2 separate regions of the Homo sapiens genome follow, and region 1 is linked to region 2. Evidence: promoter capture Hi-C in 16 types of primary human blood cells and fetal thymus (Javierre and others, 2016). All regions are on one chromosome and are shown on one strand. The core of a region is centred on a gene start or on the middle of the fragment in contact, and the rest is flanking DNA. Distances in the headings are between cores, read along the strand shown. Region 1 has its middle 56 kb from the start of CORO2B. Region 2 holds the start of SPESP1 (sperm equatorial segment protein 1).

Region 1 (5,624 bases), core at 267-2,766, 410 kb after region 2:
GTGAAAGAGTACATACTTATGACTTCATTCATTTGAAACTCTAGAAACTCCAGAAATAACAAATCTGTGTTCCAGTGACAAAAAGCTGATCAGTGGTTGCCTTAAGCTGGTTGTAAGAGTGATTGATTGGGACACAACATATGCAAACTTTTTGGGCAGAAGAAGTGTTTTATATCTTGATTTTGATGTTGTACATGAATGTATACATTTGTAAAAACTCATCGCACTGTCAGCTTTAAGTTGGTGCATTTTAACACGTTATAATTTAATAAAGTAAATAAAGTTGATTAAAATTATTTTAAAAAAATCCAGCAAGCCCAGTTTGACTCTCTGCCCAGCAGCTTATTTTGTAAACAAAGTTGATAATTTTGACCCATTTTGGGGGTTTTGGTTTCTGTTCTGGGGATAGATATGAATTAGGCTGAATTTGAGACAAGAGTCTGGAGATTTTGATTGAGTGAGCAAGTAACAGAAATTACATTTCTACTTTTTAACAAATGAAAAATATTTTCACTAAACCCTGCAAAAGGCTCTGTCAAGAATCGAGTTAGCTTCAGCTGGGTAACTTACAAAGCCTTCTTGAGTCCTCCCATGACCCAGAATAAGGGGAAACTGTCCTTTTCCAAATTCTGACAGACTCACTAGTAATTTGCTTCAAAACATCTGTAGTCCTTCCTGACTTTTCCAGCAATGTTTCACAGAAAGCTCTTCTTTTCTTTTCAAAATGCTTCAGAATTTACTTTGAAAATGAAGTTTGTATCTGTCCCCCGTCCCCCCTGAATTTTGAGTGACTTATTTCAGAACTGGCTTCAATTTACATGCCTGTCATTTTAGACCATAATAAGCCCCATTAACTGTTATATGATGTCAGTTTGCTTTATTTTTGTTTTTGGGGTTTTTTAGGGGGAATGGGAGGAGGGTTAAGCTGCCTGTCTGAGAGTGGCAGATTTGGCTGATTTAGTTATACCCAGATGTGCCTAAATATAAGACAGAGAGGAATAAATACTGAGTAGGAGTTTTAGTGAATTTATGTTGTATTTCTCATAAATTCCTGTGGGTTCCTTTTGGCACCAGAATTTAATTTATTATTCTCTGTTCCTTTTTAAATAAAATCTGATGCAACAGTTAAGGGCTAGGCTCAGGCTGGGAGCCTCTGCCTCTGATCAGCTGCTGCAACATAATATAAATCAATTCGGCAAGTAATACCAGAGCATCTACTGTGTATTTAGACCTTTAGTGAGTCCCGTGGAGTGTTCAGGAAAATGTTCTGGCTTCAGGGAGCCTCCAACAGAAAAGAAGCATAAATGGTGACTAGACTTTGAGCTGGAAGAGCTAAATTTTAGTTAGGCCTCCTCTACCTAATTACCGGCCTTAGAAGAATTTATTTAACTTCTTGGTTAAAGAAATTTTTATGAGCTTCAATGTCTTCATTTGCAAAATGGAAAAAATATCCCTACTTTCTCCACAGTATCAAGGCAGGGTTCAAAGAAGGGAATGCTTAGCATGGCGCTTTTAAAAAGGTACATGCAATAAAATGGTGAAGTTCATTTATTAGAGTATGATTGGGGAGATAAGCCCATCTTATCTCAGCAAAAAGTGCATGAAAGAATTTATGATTTAGTTATTTCCTCATAGAACAGCAAAAAGGGATTAGGGAAAACAATAGATTTTTATTAATATTAATATCATTAAAACAAGATTTTAAAAGCTACAAGAGTCATACTTTTACTTCTGGTTACAATAAAGTAACTTGTGTCAGACCAAAGTTTCTAGTGAAATAAACTTAAAAAGCTGGAATTTTTTCTTTTCTTTTTTTTTGAGACAGGGTTTTGCTCTGTTGCCCAGGCTGGAGTGCAGTGGTGCAATTATGGTTCACTGCCACCTCCTGGGCTCAAGCGGTCCTCTCATCTCAGCCTCCCAAGTAGTTGGGACTGCAAGCATGCACCACCACACTCAGCTAATTTTTTAATTTTTTATAAAAATGAGGTCTCACTATGTTGCCCAGCCTGGTCTTGAACTCCTGGGCTCAAGCAATCCTCCCACCTTTGCCTCCCAAAGTGCTTGGATTGTAAGCATGAGCCACTGAGGCCAGCCTTGGAAAAAAATATTTTTAAAAATATCTTTGAAGAATTGTAGGACACCCAAGGCAACCACTATTTAAGGGGCCAAGATTTTGGAGAAAAAAAAGGAAGTTCTTTGAAAGATCTCAATATCTGGTCATCACTTTTCCCCTTGGGATATGGGAGGCTGCAGGGCCTGGTAGGGTTTACCCACAAAGAAGCAGAGAAGCCAGCAGAGCTTTAGGCTATCTGATAGAGCAGAGGAACAAAAAAGGACAGTTCTAGGCTCCCAAGGCAGCTGACTTGAGGAGCCAAGGTCCAAGAGACAATGGAGGCACAGAAAACTAAACCTGACAGTTAGCATTTTTCCACTTGAGGTATTTGTCAATTCTTGGCTGTGCAGGGTGAGAAGCTAAGAAACTAAACAAAAGGTAGTTGGGAAACCTTTCATGGTCTCTGGGAGACAAAAATTGGAATTTAGGGCTGGGTACAGTGGCTCATGCCTATAGTCCCAGCACTTTGGGAGGCTGAGGAGGGAGGATTGCTTAAGCCCAGGAGTTCAAGACCAGCCTGGGCGACATAGGGAGACCCCCATCTCTACAAAAAATTAAGAAATTAGTTAGGCATGGAGTCGTGTGCCTGTGGTCCTAGCTACTTAGGAAGCTGAGGTGGGAGGATCACATTGAGCCTGGGAGGTTGAGGCTGCAGTGAGCCATGATTATGCCATTCCACTCCATCCAGCCTGAGTGACAGAGTGAGACCCTGTCTCAAAAAGAAAAAAGAAAAAAGAAAGAAAAGAAAAAGAAAGAATTTAGGATTTTCTAAGAATGAGTGGCCGACCCAAGAAATACCCCTGGACCTGGATGGCTATACTCTTGGAGGAAAAATGACAAGAGAAAGAACAAATTTGTAAAGACTAAAACCAACTTCAAGTCAGTTCAGCCCTTGATTGAATGGAGGTAAACAAACAGCCCCTACTCTAACTGCATGCCAGAGAATAGAATGAACCCTCTATAGAAGAAGATGTTATCATCCAAAGTCTCCACATGTTTTAATATAAACTCTCCAGTATTCAATAAAAAATAGTAAGTATTCCAAGTTACAAGACCAAGAGAAAAAACAGGCAAGAAAAACACGCAGGAAAAATAAACCCATATGTGACTTACATATTAGGGTTATTGGACACTAAAACAACTGTGATTAATATGCTCATAAAAAGATATAACAAGATGAAGAATTTTGCTTGAGAACAACAATCTATTTTTAAAAATCAAGCAAATTCCAAAACTGAAAAGGAATATAATTGATGAAACCAGTCTGACCATCATGGTGAAACCCCGTCTCTACTAAAAATACAAAAATTAGCCAGGCATGGTGGCACGCACCTGTAATCCCAGCTACTCAGGAGGCTGAGGCAGGAGAATCGCTTGAACCCAGGAGGCAGAGGTTGCAGTGAGCTGAGACTGTGCCACTGCACTCCAGCCTGGATGACAGAGCGAGACTCCATCTCAAAAAAAAGAAAGAAAGAAAAAGAATTCAATAGATGGCTCAACAATAGATTGGCACAGCTGAAGAGGATTAGTTAAGTTGTGCTTAAAGAGCATATAAGAGATATATGAGACATGGTGGAGAGTTTGAATATTAACACAATTGGAGTCTCAGACGAGAAAGAGAGAAGAATGGAGAAGAAGTGGTATTTAAAGAGATATGGAAATAATGACTAAGAATTTTCCAACAATGCCAAGACATCAAGCTAGAGATTCAAGAGTACTACAAAGTCCAAGCAAGAAAGAAAATGACATCTAGAAACATCATTGTGAATCTTTGAAAATTACAGGTAAAGAGAATATTCTTTAAAGGAGTCCATGGGGCCAGGCATGGTGGGTCACGCCTGCAATCCCAGCACTTTGGGAGACTGAGGTGGGAGGATTGCTTGAGTTCAGGAGTTAAAGACCAGCCTGGGCAACATAGGGAGACCTTGTCTCTACAAAAAATTTTACAAATTAGCCGGGTGTGGTGGCACATGCCTGGTCTGTAGTCTCATCTACTTGAGAGGCTTTCGTATTTTTTTCATTGGAGACGGGGTTTTGCCATGTTGGCCAGGCTAGTCTCAAATTCCTAACCCATCTACTTGCTTGAGCCTGGGAGGTCGAGGCTGCAGTGAGCCACTGCTGCACTCCAGCCTGGGTGATAAAGTGAGAAAGAAAAAAAAAAACAAAAAAGAAAAGAAAAGAAGTATATAGTGAAAAGACACATACCTTCAAAAGCACAATAAAAAGATGAAAGCCAGAAGACAATGGAATGATATCTTCAAATTTATAAAATAAAAATAATTGACAATCTAGGATTCTATAGCCAGTGTAAAAACTTTCAAAGTGTATGCGAAATAAAGTTATTTCTAGACAGGCAAGAGTAAAATGACCCCAGATGGCAAAAAAGGAAATGTAAGAAGGAATGAAGAACAACGGAAAGGGTGAATATGTGGGTACATCTAAATAAACATTGACTTTACAAGAAAATAATGTAATGTGACATTCAAAATATATATAGAACTAAAATGTAGACAATAATAACACAAAAAGTAGGGGAATGAGTTAAAATGTACCAAGCTTGTGGCACTGTCCAGAATTTACAAAAGTACTACTTTATATTAGATTCTAAAAAGTTAAGTAATCTATGGCAATCTCTAAAATAATAGTAACAGAATGTAAAACTGACAAGCTAATGGGGGAGATGGAATAATGAAAAATAGCTTATTAATTCAAAAGAATGCAAGAAAAGGGAACATAAAACAGGTCTAGGAAAAATAGAAAACAAATAGTAAAGATGGTAGATGTAAAACCAAACTTATCAACCAAAGAACTAAATACTCCAATTAAATGTAAATGAATTAAATACTTCATTTAAAAGACAAAACTTTTTTTTTTTTGAGATGGAGCCTTGCTCTGTCACCCAGGCTAGAGTGCAGTGGCATGATCTTGGCTCACTTCAACCTCCACCTCCCAGGTTCAAGTGATTCTCCTGCTTCAGCCTCCCAAGTAGCTGGGATTACAGGTGCACGCCATCATGGCTGGCTAATTTTTGTATTTTTTTCAGTGGAGATGGGGTTTTGCCATGTTGGCCAGGCTAGTCTCAAACTCCTGACCTCAGGTGATCCACCCGCCTCGGCCTCCCAAAGTGCTGGGATTACAAGCATGAGCTACTGCACCCGGCCAAAGCTTTTAAGACTGGATTTTTAAATGCTATGCTGTTTACAAGGGTCCTTAAATATTAAGCTGAACCACATTAATGTGCCGATAGTCAACCATATTTGACTTATAAAAATAGCAGTTTCTTATAGTTCAACCTAAGATGAGGGCATAGTGAAGCTGAAAGTAAACGGATAGAAAAATATACCCTGTGAACTGTAACCAAGAGAAAGTAGAGTTTAAGGCAAGAAGCATTTCTAAGCATTTAAGAGAGACATTTCATAATGATAAAAGTGCTAGTCCATCAGGAAGATACAACTTTTCCAAATTTTTATGTATTTAACGCCATAGCTTCAAATTACACGGAGCAAAAATT
Region 2 (5,622 bases), core at 1,549-4,048:
ATACCCAAGCTGCATTTATGTCTAACTGAATTTAGATTAAACAAATACTAGCTAAGCTTGGATTGGGCCTGTTAGAAAGGTATAGGCAGATACAAGAAGTACTGAGGTTTTCAATAAATGCAATTACTTAATACACCCGTGATGTTTGCGTAATAACCTCAAAACTGTCTAGTAGTCTAGAAAAAATGTGTCAAAGCTGCACTTTTCATTATAAAAACCTATGTACCTTATCTTTTGCATCTCGCCAACAATTGTTTGAATAGTGGCCATATAAAAGAATGCATAGCTGATTTACATCAAGCTCAATGATATACGCATTTTGGTATACTTATTTTAAAAACAAAATTAAAATTAGAGAAAAAGTAGAGAGACAGATACAGAGAAAGCAGCCATGTACCACTGCCTGCTCTATATATTCCTTAATCCACTTCTGTAGAAGAAAGGTAATTACATATTCCAAGACATCTTCTATGATTACAACCTGTATATAGTTTCCTTATGTCTTATAACATCTATATATTCAACACAAAATCACTCCTTTTTTCTGGGAAGCGTCTTTTCATTTCCTACAACCCTTTTCTTTCTTCCCAAGAAAGATTAGGGAATAGGGTGCTAAGAAAGACAACAGGCTGGCTGGGCACAGTGGCTCAAGCCTGTAATCCCAGCACTTTGCAAGGCCGAGGCGGATGGATCATTTGAGGTCAGGAGCTCGAGACCAGCCTGGCCAACATGGTGAAACCCCGTCTCTACTAGAAATACAAAAATTAGCCAGGCGGTAGTGGCGTGCGCCTATAATCCCAGCTACTCAGGAGGCTGAGGTGGGAGAATCCCTCGAGCCTGGGAGGCAGAGGTTGCGGTGAGCCGAGATCGGGCCACTGCACTCTAGTCTGAGCTAGAGAGTGAGACCCTGTCTCAGGCAAAAAAAAAAGGGGGGGAAAAGGGAAGGGGAGGGGGAGGGGAAAATTATGGTGTTAGGCAAGAGACTGCACTGAGTTAAGTGGGTGTCCAGGGACTCCTACCTAGCAGTCCCAGAGTGTACTGTGTGACAGTGTTAAAGTCACTTCAGTTAAAGTCTCCATATATGTTAGTCACTTGTGACTTGCTGATCTACAACTACCAAAATGCAATAACTGGTGTTAGTAATAATGATCATCAGACATCAAGAAAAGATAGTAGCATCTTCATTATGTTCTGGTCCTCTATGTCAAGGAAGAAAAATTTTACAAAACTTTTTATTAAAAACAGCTACAAATCATAAATGCTAGTATTTAAAGAGCTAACTTTAGTTACCTAGAACTTCATCTAGAACTTTTCCCATTACTATTCATAATTTAGATTGTGTTGTATTTTCAGTTTTTAAATTTGATTTTTAACTAAGATCGTTTAGCAATTCTGAAAAATAGATTTGCATAATCAGCATGCACGATAGCGCTTTTTTTACACCTGTTAAATTGTATTTATTGATTTAAGTGAAACCAAACTCCAACATTACTAAATGCCACAATGAACTACAGTTAGACTAAATGGGGAAGCCTCACCTACCTGACTTAAATACTAAGTGCCTTAAGGTGCCCACATGATATTGTTAATATAGTAAAGTCTTAGCACCCCTGAATTTGACCTTATTGGTTTTCAGCTTTCGGGGAGGGACAAAAATTGCTCCTTGGCAGGTCTTAAGTTATAATCCTGCTTAACTAAGGCTTTGAATGCCGTGTGCGCAAGCATGCTCTCTGGGAGCGCATCCTCAGGTGAGTGTCCCAGACCGCGACCCACAATCCACATGCTCTCCAAATTTTACCGTACGGGTCAACCTTTTTTTCTGTACAGGGCCAGAGAGTAAATACTTCAGTCTTTGCAGACCAGACTGTGTGGCAACCACTTAACCCCGTTGTTCTAACGTGGGAAAGCAGCCATGGGCAATACGTAAAGGAATGAGCGTGGTGGTGTGCCAGTAAAACTTTATTCACGAACAATGAAATGTGAGCGTCATGCTTTTCCACAAGTCATGAAAGAGTACATTTCATATTTACTTTGAAAATGCAAAAATAGAACATCACACACCAGGGCCTGCCGTGGGGTGGGGGGAGGGGGGAGGGATAGCATTAGGAGATATACCTAATGTAAATGACAAGTTATGGGTGCAGCACACCAATATGGCACATGGATACATATGTAACAAACCTGCACGCTGTGCACATGTACCCTAGAACTTAAAGTATAATAATTAAAAAAAAAGGAAGAAAATGTAAAAATCATTCCTAGCTGGCCAGCAGCTGTCACACGACCCCTGCACGGTCACACGCCCAATGGCTGGGGAAGGATCGGGTGGGCAGAGGAAGGCCTCCGGTGAGGTGAGGGGGTTCCACCCGCGCCCACGGCCCGCAGGCGCTTCCCGTCTCATCTGGGCCGCGCCGCCTCAGTTGCTGCGTTCCCTGACCAGGAGAGGAGAGGGACACCCCTCGGCGTCGAGGCCAGGACCCCGGACAGTGGGGGAGGGAGGCATGTAGGACCAGGGAGAAGGAAGGGCCAGGCTTCGAGGTCGCGGAGCTCGGGAAGTTCCCCCAGGGTGTCCCCGGTCCGCTGCCTCCTCAGGCCCGTCACTCACTCGGATAAGCCGGCACAGACGAAGGCCATAGCAAAAGCGCAACTAGAAGGACTAAGGGCTTCATAGGCGTCGTCCGTAGCACTCTGCCATGCGACCGGAACGTCCTGGGGCCACCAGGCTGGGAACCTCAAGGCCGAAAGGGAAGGTGTCAGCGGAGTACCGTCCTGCCTCAGGCCCTGGGACACCCAGCAACGGTTGTCCCCAGCGCGCAAGCGCAGCGGCATGGGGGAGGGGAGAGCGAGCGGCCAAGGCCCGCCCCTCCTGGGACCGCGTGCAGGGGGCGGGGGATCGCGCGCGCCCCGCCCCGCCCCTTCCTAGTGCGCATGCTCGCTCCGCCTTCGTAGGTCCGCGCCTGGTGTGGGCTGGGAACGCCTCGACGCCCGGCTACTGCGTGCGGGGTGCTGCCTCGGGGCGTGCGGGGCTCGGCCCATCCTGCGCGGTAGGGATACCGCCGTGGTTTAAACGCGGTCCCTGTGAGGAAGGAACTGTAATGGGAGAGGCAGATAACCTGGCAATTACCACAGCGTGAAAGGGGGCTGTAGTGGGGGAAGCGCTAGGTACTGTTGTGCACAGTGGAAACCCACCCCCGGAAGCGGGTGGGGAGCTTGGCTAAGTGGAGGACAGCTTGGAGCACCCCAAGAACTGAGCATAGTTCCGGCGAGTTGCATTGTGGGGCTTGGGAGGGCAGTTGTTGGAGGACAGGGAGGAGAGGTAGGCAAGGGCATTAAAAACGCCCTAAGGGGCTTGGGTGTTTTTGTTTTTCAAAAGATCACATTCCATTTCTTTGACCTTCTTAAAAAGATAGGGGTAGGGATGAGGGAGAGTACGACTATGAAAGGATAGCATGAGGTTGTTTTGGGGACTAATAGATGGCAGTGGCCACAAGAATCTATACATGTGTTAAAATTCACAGAAGGCCGGGCACGGTGGCTCACTCCTGTAATCCCAGCACTTTGGGAGGCCGAGGTGGGCGGACCACCTGAGGTCAGGAGTTCGAGACCAGCCTGACCAACATAGTGAAACTTCGTGGCTACTAAAAATACAAAATTAGCCAGGCGTGGGTGGTGGCACACGCCTGTAGTCCCAGCTACTTGGGAGACTGAGGCAGGAGAATCACTTGAACCCGGGAAGCAGAGGTTGCAGTGAGCCGAGATCGTGCCACTGCACTCCAGCCTGGGCGACAGAGCAAGACTCCACCTCAAAAAAATAAATAAAAATAAAAATTCGCAGAACTGCACATCCCAAAGAATCTGTTTTTCTGTATGGTTATTTTTAAAAATTCACGTACACTCATCTCTGCCTCAGGAAGCAAGGGGCTTGGATTTTAGTCTGAGGCACCAGTACTAGAGTACTGCTAGGTTTTGAGCTGGGAACGGTTGTGATTAGATTTGTATTCCAGAAAACTCACTCTTCCTGTAGCATGAAGAATGGACTGGAGGGAAGCAAGACTAGAGGCGCCGGCGGAAACTGAGACTGCGCACGGCGCTTGCGGGCCAGCCCGAGTTCCGGGTGGGCGTGGGCTCGGCGGGCTCGGTGGGCCCGGCACTCAGCGCGGCCGGCCGTCCCCGCTGGCCACGGGCAGTTGGGGGGAGCTTAGCACCTGGGCCAGGAGCTGCTGTGCTCGATTTCTCGCCAGGCCTTAGCTGCCTCCCCGCAGGGCAGGGCTCGGGACCTGCAGCCTGCCATGCCTGAGCCTCCCTGAGGAGCGCCGCTCCCTGCTCCACGGCGCCCAGTCCCATCGACCGCCCAAGGGCTGAGGAGTGCGGGCGCAGGGCCGGGGACTGGCAGGCAGCTCCACCTGCGCCTGGGTGTGGGATCCACTGGGTGAAGCCAGCTGGGCTCCTGAGTCTGGTGGGGACTTGGAGAACCTTTATGTCTAGCTAAGGGATTGTGAATGCACCAATGGGCACTCTGTGTCTAGCTCAAGGTTTGTAAATGCACCAATCAGCACCCCGTGTCTAGCTAATCTAGTGGGGACTTGGAGAACTTTTGTGTCTAGCTCAGGGATTGTAAATGCACCAATCAGCACCCTGTCAAAACGGACCAATCAGCTCTCTGTAAAGTGAACCAATCAGCAGGATGTGGGTGGGGCCAGATAAGGGAATAAAAGCAGGCTGCCCGAGCCAGCAGTAGTAACCCTATGGAGTCTCTTTCTGTCGTGTGGAAGGTTTGTTCTTTCGCTTTTTGCAATAACTCTTGCTGCTGTTTACTCTGGGCCCACACTGCCTTTATAAGCTGTAACACTCGCTGCGAAGGTCTGCCGCTTCACTCCTGAAGCCAGTGAGACCACGAACCCACCGGGATGAATGAACAACTCAGATGGGCCACCATAAGAGCTGTAACACTCACCATGAGGGTCTACAGCTTCACTCCTGGTCCAGCTAGACCACGAATCCACCAGAAGGAAGAAACTCCAAACACATCCGAACATCAGAAGGAACAAATTCCGGACATGCTGCCTTTAAGAACTGTGACACTCACCACGAGGATCCACGGCTTCATTCTTTAAGTTAGACCAAGAACCCACCAATTCCGGACACATGTTGAGGAACCAATGTCTCCAGCCAACAGCCAGTAAGGACCTGAGGCCTGACAACAATCAGGTGAGTGAACTTGGTAATAGATTCTCCCCAGGTGAGCCTGGAGTTGACCACAGCCCGGCTGACATCTTGATTGTAGCTGCCTGAGAAACCCAGAGATGGAGGCACCCAGCTAAGCCACGCTTAGATTCCTGACTCACAGAAACTGTAAGACAGTAAGTGCTTGTTAAATGGAGGAGGAGAAAGCATTTGCGTAAGCAATAGCTACATACAAGGGTCTCTGTTGATTTGTTCCTTGAAAGAGACCATGCTTGGAAAGGCACCTGCAGTTGGGTACACTACTTAATTGAGTTAATAATTGTCAGTCATTCTTCCAGGTCCATCTGTTTTCATTACCAGTCAAGCTGGAAGGCAGGTATAAATTAAGATAATTGATTCAGATATTTTAGGGTGACACTATAGCTAGTCAACAAGGGA

The links. The method cuts DNA at HindIII sites, captures the fragments that hold promoters and counts their contacts. A CHiCAGO score of 5 or more calls a contact.
Region 1: a fragment that was not itself captured here is called in contact with the fragment with the promoter of SPESP1 in region 2 in 1 of 17 cell types (M2 macrophages); the score reaches 7.4 in M2 macrophages.

Annotation. Positions count from the first base shown.
Region 1 is chr15:68,520,414-68,526,037 of GRCh38, reverse strand. It overlaps a transcript of CORO2B not described here. Among named protein-coding and RNA genes, the nearest start is that of CORO2B, 56 kb to the left of the region's middle. The HindIII fragment of the contact is 6,311 bases long and covers 1-4,671 here.
Region 2 is chr15:68,927,701-68,933,322 of GRCh38, reverse strand. It overlaps SPESP1 (sperm equatorial segment protein 1), which reads right to left and starts at 2,798. Exons shown (of 2, transcript NM_145658.4): 1 at 2,606-2,798. The coding sequence starts at 2,669. It overlaps SPESP1-NOX5 (SPESP1-NOX5 readthrough), which reads right to left and starts at 2,798. Exons shown (of 17, transcript NR_033672.2): 1 at 2,606-2,798. The HindIII fragment of the contact is 10,282 bases long and covers 59-5,622 here.